Linked DNA regions of Homo sapiens: region 2 is linked to region 1. The links are contacts of gene promoters, found by promoter capture Hi-C in human tissues and cell types (Jung and others, 2019). All regions are on one chromosome and are shown on one strand. The core of a region is centred on a gene start or on the middle of the fragment in contact, and the rest is flanking DNA. Distances in the headings are between cores, read along the strand shown. Region 1 holds the start of GRM3 (glutamate metabotropic receptor 3). Region 2 overlaps GRM3 (glutamate metabotropic receptor 3).

Region 1 (2,898 bases), core at 159-2,658:
GTTGCCCACCTCTGCCTGCAACCTCCACACCCACATGAAACCGCCCGTATCCACGGATTCCTGTGCACAAAGCCTTAGGGAGCCCCCAAATAGAAACAAATTCTGAGCCCAGAGCTGAGATGGAGGTGGTTGGCTGATGAGACTGGTCTCTCTGGGGTCTGCGAGTGCTAGTTCGTCCCTTCACCTCTCGCACCCTGGCCGCAGATCTATGCCCTGAAATCTCCCTCCTCCCAGACACAGACGTGGGCGCACACACACAAACTCTCACTCATGCACACCCACATCGCCTCTGCCCTCCACCCTTCCCACTCCAGTCAGGACTGTAGGGACTGGTCCATGCTCTACCTCAACTTTCCCGGCTGCGCCTGCCCCACGCGGCACCCGAGCTTCCGCGCCCTGGCTGGGCGCCCTCCAGAGGGACACGTCCTCCTCTGGGACCCTTACCTCGCACCGACAACTCCTGGCAGGAACTGGAGCTGACCGCGGTGGCAGCGGCGGCGGTGAGCCTGCACCCGGGCTCTGGCTCATGGTTGGTCCTCCTCATCCGACACAAAAGAGGTAGCTTACTGGCTTTGTCCTTTCCAAATCCAAGGGAGAACTTATTTTGCCCTCGAAATGGCCAACTTGTGCGCGCAGCTTCCTGTCACAGTGCCCCCTGCCCCTGCCCCCTCCCGGCTGCACGCTGGACCACTGCCCGGTGGCAGAACATCCAGGCATCCGAGTCAGTGGGGAGTGGGAAAACGGAGGGGTGGAGTAGAAGAGAGGGAGGAGGTTGGGGAAAGAGGGGACCCAGTGGTCTTCCGCGGAGGGGAGGGGAGCTCTTCCCAGCCGAGTCCCCTCCTCCTTCTCTTATCAGGCAAACCCACTTCCTAGGCGCGGAAGCAACTTTCCTTCACCTTGACCAGGCTGAAGCCGTCGCATCTAATTGGGACTCTTGGCAGAAGCACGGACCTCCTGGCATCCTCTCCTTTTCATTCTTTCCTCCCTCTCTCGTTCTTTTCCCTCCCCCACCCTCCCTCTTATAAGGGTATATCTGCAGAGTCTTCAGTGAGCCAGGGTACCTAGACGAGAGGATTTTTATACGAAAAGCCAGGGTAGATTTGCCGACTGCTTTGCCTCACTCTGAAATCCTTAGGCAGTGCATGCAAAGGTCGGTGAATTTCGGAGTGGGGTGAAGGGGCATGGGGCGGTAGGGAGGGTGGCGGCTCCAACTTTAAAGCTCTGCTAGAGCGCTTGGCTTTCAGGTAAGCAGGGACTAACAGTCCTTACAAGAACTCTCCTGTGGTCCCTGGGCAGGGGGCTGACCGCATGCCAGAGGAGATTAGGAGAGCGGGAGCAGAGAGGGAGTGTGAGAGCCAGGGAGGCCGGTACGCAGCTCAGCCGTACTCGCGACTCAACTGCACACTGCGAGCCCCTGGAGAGGGTTTGTGCAGAACAATCTCTGGGTCAGGCGGGAGGCAGACGCTCCTGTTTCCTAGCAACCCTTATCAATCTTCTCCCTCTGAAGGAATTCAATTGGACAGCCCCTGGAGAAAAGCCACGCCCATCCGGGAATGCTGGGCTGCTGCTTTTTCGCATTCTCCCAAATTTCTTGGGTGGAATAAGATTATAGGGGACTGCTGAATTATCTTTCTTCTTATCCTTTTCTGCTACCACCTCGCCTCTTAAAGCTACCCCCAGCACCCCCTCATTGGTCCTTCTCTAGTCCTGCTATGGTTGTCGGATACAGTCAATGTTTCCTACAGAACCTCTTCTTTCTTCTTAAAAATAAATAAATAAATAGGAACCTTAAATCGGTGACGTAGGCACAAAAGAGAAAAAGGCACGCGGAAACAGCTTTAATAGGCTGCCAGCTACAGATAAAATCCTAAAGGTAAAATTCCAGGCATCTTTCTATGTCTAGAAACACATACTGTTTAATTTCCAAATTGAAACTTCATTAATTTTTGTACTCTAATATACTAACTTTGTATTAACCAAGGACTGAATTATATGAAGCCAGACACAATTAAACTTAATGCTTTAAATGCTACATTTAGTCTTTAATATTTAATGTTAAGTTGTTTAACAATTGCTGTCTTTTGTAACCTAGCCAGAACTTTTAAACTACAGAAATAATTTTACCTACTGATTCTTTTAGAGGGACAGCAATATTTAAAAGACACATGTGCATATATATATATATATATATATATATATATATATTTCATTGTGAACTCCACTAGATCCAGAAATTTGAATATATTAAAAAATAAAGTGTTATTATATAGTGAAATGCTAAAATTTTAGAAGTCCCCCTTTCAACGTATTCTTTCTGGAATGCAATAGCATTGACCACGTACAAGCAAAATTCCTCTTCCTTTGTGTTTCATTAGTATTTTCCAGCATGAATTGTTCACCAAAAAAAGATCTTTATAGGAATTTAATTTTAATTTTAAGAATTTATTTACTTTTAACAATGTCTGCCCAATAGACAACTGTATATCAAGGGGCAATGACATGAACATGAGAAAGATAAAGATTTATACACTGCAAGGCTTCAGATCCTCATGAAGCTGTGTGGGTAGATTTTGGTCTCTTTCAGAACGTTCCAGAAGACATCATTTTGCGCTTCCAAGACCTTATCAGAATTAGCTGGGATTGAGAGAAGTAGAAGAGAGCTGATGTTTTTGTCTCACACACACAAAAGTAGCTGATGTTTGCACAACGGAAAGTGCTGATAAACTGCACTCCATAGTCTGTATCTAGCTGTTAACTAAGGCTTGTGGTGAGTAGAGGCTGAAATGCTGAGGCAAATTATCAGTCTGTTATCAGATATTGCCTGATGAGACACTTCTTTCCTCTCCCACGTTACGCCATACACACAAAGGAATTCCTCAATGTGAATCCTGAATTTTC
Region 2 (2,789 bases), core at 88-2,587, 42 kb before region 1:
GTCCCTAAGTGTGGTTTTATTCACCTTTATTGTGCTTTGTGTTTGGACAGCTTTTTGGATCTTATGTCTATAAAATCAGACATTTTTCATCAATTTTGAAAAATTTCTGGCCAGTATTTTTCAATCATTTATGTTCTAGCATTCTATGTTCTCTCTTTCTAGTGCTCTGATTACATGTATATCAGAGCTTTTCATGGAATCCTATATTTCCCTGACTTTTTTCCTAGATTTTCTACTTTTTCTTTTATAGGGATTAATCACAGCACTTTTTATTGACATGTCTTTAGTTCACTAAATTATCTATTCTGATGTTTCCAATCTGTTATTAAACCCATCTACTAAATTCTTAATTTCAATTTTTATATTTTCAGTTGCAGGATTTCAGTTTGATGCATTTATGAATTTCAGGTTTCCACTGAAATTCCATTCTTTCCTCTATCCATTTGAATATATTAATCATTGCTATTTAAAAATATATTTTATAATTTTAATATCTAAAATACCTAGGTGTCTGTTTCTATTTTTTGCGTTTCTTTTATTTGCTGATGAGCTTGTTTTTAGCAAGCCTTGTATGTTTTGAATCAATGTGCATATTATAGACAAGTTAAATATCAAGTTTTTGTTTTGTTTTGTTTTTTGTCAGCTATAGCAGTAATGCTTTATCTTGATCTTTTAGTTGGTTGCTTTTAGTCTTTGTTAGGGCTGATTACATAATATTTGCCCTTACACTTGAGTGAGGCTTTATAGACTCTCAACTCAAAGCTTGAAGTTTTTACCAAACCTTTGTAATTTTGAGGCACTCAAATACTAAACTGTTTTTCCTTAAAAACGTCTCTGAAATATCTTTGCAACCCCCTGGTGATTTATATTGTTTCCTTTTTTGGAGTTTTGCCCTGTGTATCACACAAGAAAAATTTTGGAACCATGTTTTAGGGTTCCCTCATCTGGGGCTACCTTCTTGCTTGAATTTTGCCCCTTCTCACTTTTCTGGCAGCTCTAAACTCTTATATTTGTCTCTTCAGTGAAGCAAGAGACTTTCATTCTGATTGAGCTCTGTTCTCCCATGCCAAACTGGAGCGTGTCTATGGAGAAATACCCACTGAAAGCATATGTCTTCCTTTAGGATCATAGCCGCTTAATTTGCTGCTTATTTTCATAGTTCTTTAGAGACTTCAATTTCAGTTTTTATATTTTGTCCAGGGGTTTAATGGTTTATAGTGTGAGAGTCTGACATAACTAATCTATCTTGCTCATTATTTAAACTGATAATTATTATTTTAAGCTACATATATTAAGCATTCATTATTTGCCAGATACGGTGCTCAAGGATTTAATTGTATTATCTCATTAAATTCCCACAGTGGTCTTTGGTGTAGTTATTAGTATTTTTTTTTTTTTTTTTTTTGGAGACAGAGTCTTTCTCTGTTGCCCAGGCTAAGAGTGCAGTGGTGCGATCTCGGCTCACTGCAGCCTCCGACTCCTGGTTCAAGCAATTCTCTTGCCTCAGCCTTGTGAGTAGCTTGGACTACAGGTGCGCCCCACCATGCCCGGCTAATTTTTTGTATTTTTAGTAGAGAAGGGGTTTCACCCTGTTGTCCAGGATGGTCTCTTTCTCCTGATCTTGTGATCCACCTGCTTTGGCCTCCCAAAGTGCTGGGATTACAGGCGTGAGCCACCGTGCCCGGCCCCCATTTATACCTTTATAGATAAGGAAACTGAGAAAGGAGAATGAACTAGTTCAGGTCACATTGGCTGCTTATCCAGATCTGTCTGACACTAAGGTGACATCATGCTGTTTCGAAAGTGAATGTCCTTTATCTTGAGCAAGAGAGAAAGCCCACTTGCTCACACACACAGGTGCCAGAGCTTGTTTCAGGTTCTCACTAAGAACACCAGGGCTTGCTTTTCTGTTTTTTCTAATCGATGATGCCTTGTCTACATAGACTTATTTTGTTTCTGGTTAGAAACCAATCTGTAAGTTTTACTGGTAATATGATACAGCAGTTTTAAAAAAAACAAAACTTACTATGTTCTCAAAGCTTTATTTAGGAATACCTTTAAGGGAACAATGTATGCCATACCAACTGTCTTTGGTGCTTTAATTGGTACTTGAAAAACTTCAGATAATTCAATACATCTTTAACTGTTTTCTATTTCATTTTTTGTAGTTCATTAATTGAGGATGGAAGTCATGCTGCAAATATGAGGATATTGAGATATTTTAAATAATGAGAAATTGAACCTAGCAACAATTTTCAATCTATAAGAAAACAAAAGTAACAGTCTGAACAAACAAATAGGAAGTAATTAGTGATAACATGGATAGCATGCTTCCTTTTTCTCAGTTACTATAAGTACTTTACACAATTAATCCTCATACCATCTCTCTGATATAGGTCATCTTGTTATCCACATGTAACAGATGAGAAAACTGAGGCACAGGGAGGTCTAATAAATTGCCCATGGTCACAAAGCTAGAAAGTGGCAGAGATGAGATTTAAAATCCGGCTGTTGGACTCTTTATTTAATATTCAGTGAAATCTTAATTAACCTGAATTCTTGAAGAATAGGATGTCATTATTCCTTGATTCTGTGATTAAACACTGTTACCATATTTTCGATTTTAACACTAGCTAGAAATTTTGCTAAGTTCACTTTACAATATATTCTTCAGATACTGCTAAAGAGCAAGAGGGATAATGGAAGACACATTTTCTTAGAATTTTAAGCTTTGAGGGGAAAGAGGGAAATTAAGGATATGGAAGATTACTAGTTATATAGGTTGTGAA

Evidence for each region. The method cuts DNA at HindIII sites, captures the fragments that hold promoters and counts their contacts. A contact is called where the count stands out against the background at its distance.
Region 2: a fragment that was not itself captured here is called in contact with the fragment with the promoter of GRM3 in region 1 in 1 of the 25 tissues and cell types used here (liver).

What each region holds. Positions count from the first base shown.
Region 1 is chr7:86,642,419-86,645,316 of GRCh38, reverse strand. It overlaps GRM3 (glutamate metabotropic receptor 3), which reads right to left and starts at 1,408. Exons shown (of 6, transcript NM_000840.3): 1 at 445-1,408. The HindIII fragment of the contact is 12,420 bases long and covers 1-2,898 here.
Region 2 is chr7:86,684,523-86,687,311 of GRCh38, reverse strand. The region is part of intron 1 of GRM3 (glutamate metabotropic receptor 3); the gene reads right to left. Among named protein-coding and RNA genes, the nearest start is that of GRM3, 42 kb to the right of the region's middle. RefSeq lists an enhancer at 1,672-1,751. The HindIII fragment of the contact is 5,408 bases long and covers 1-2,789 here.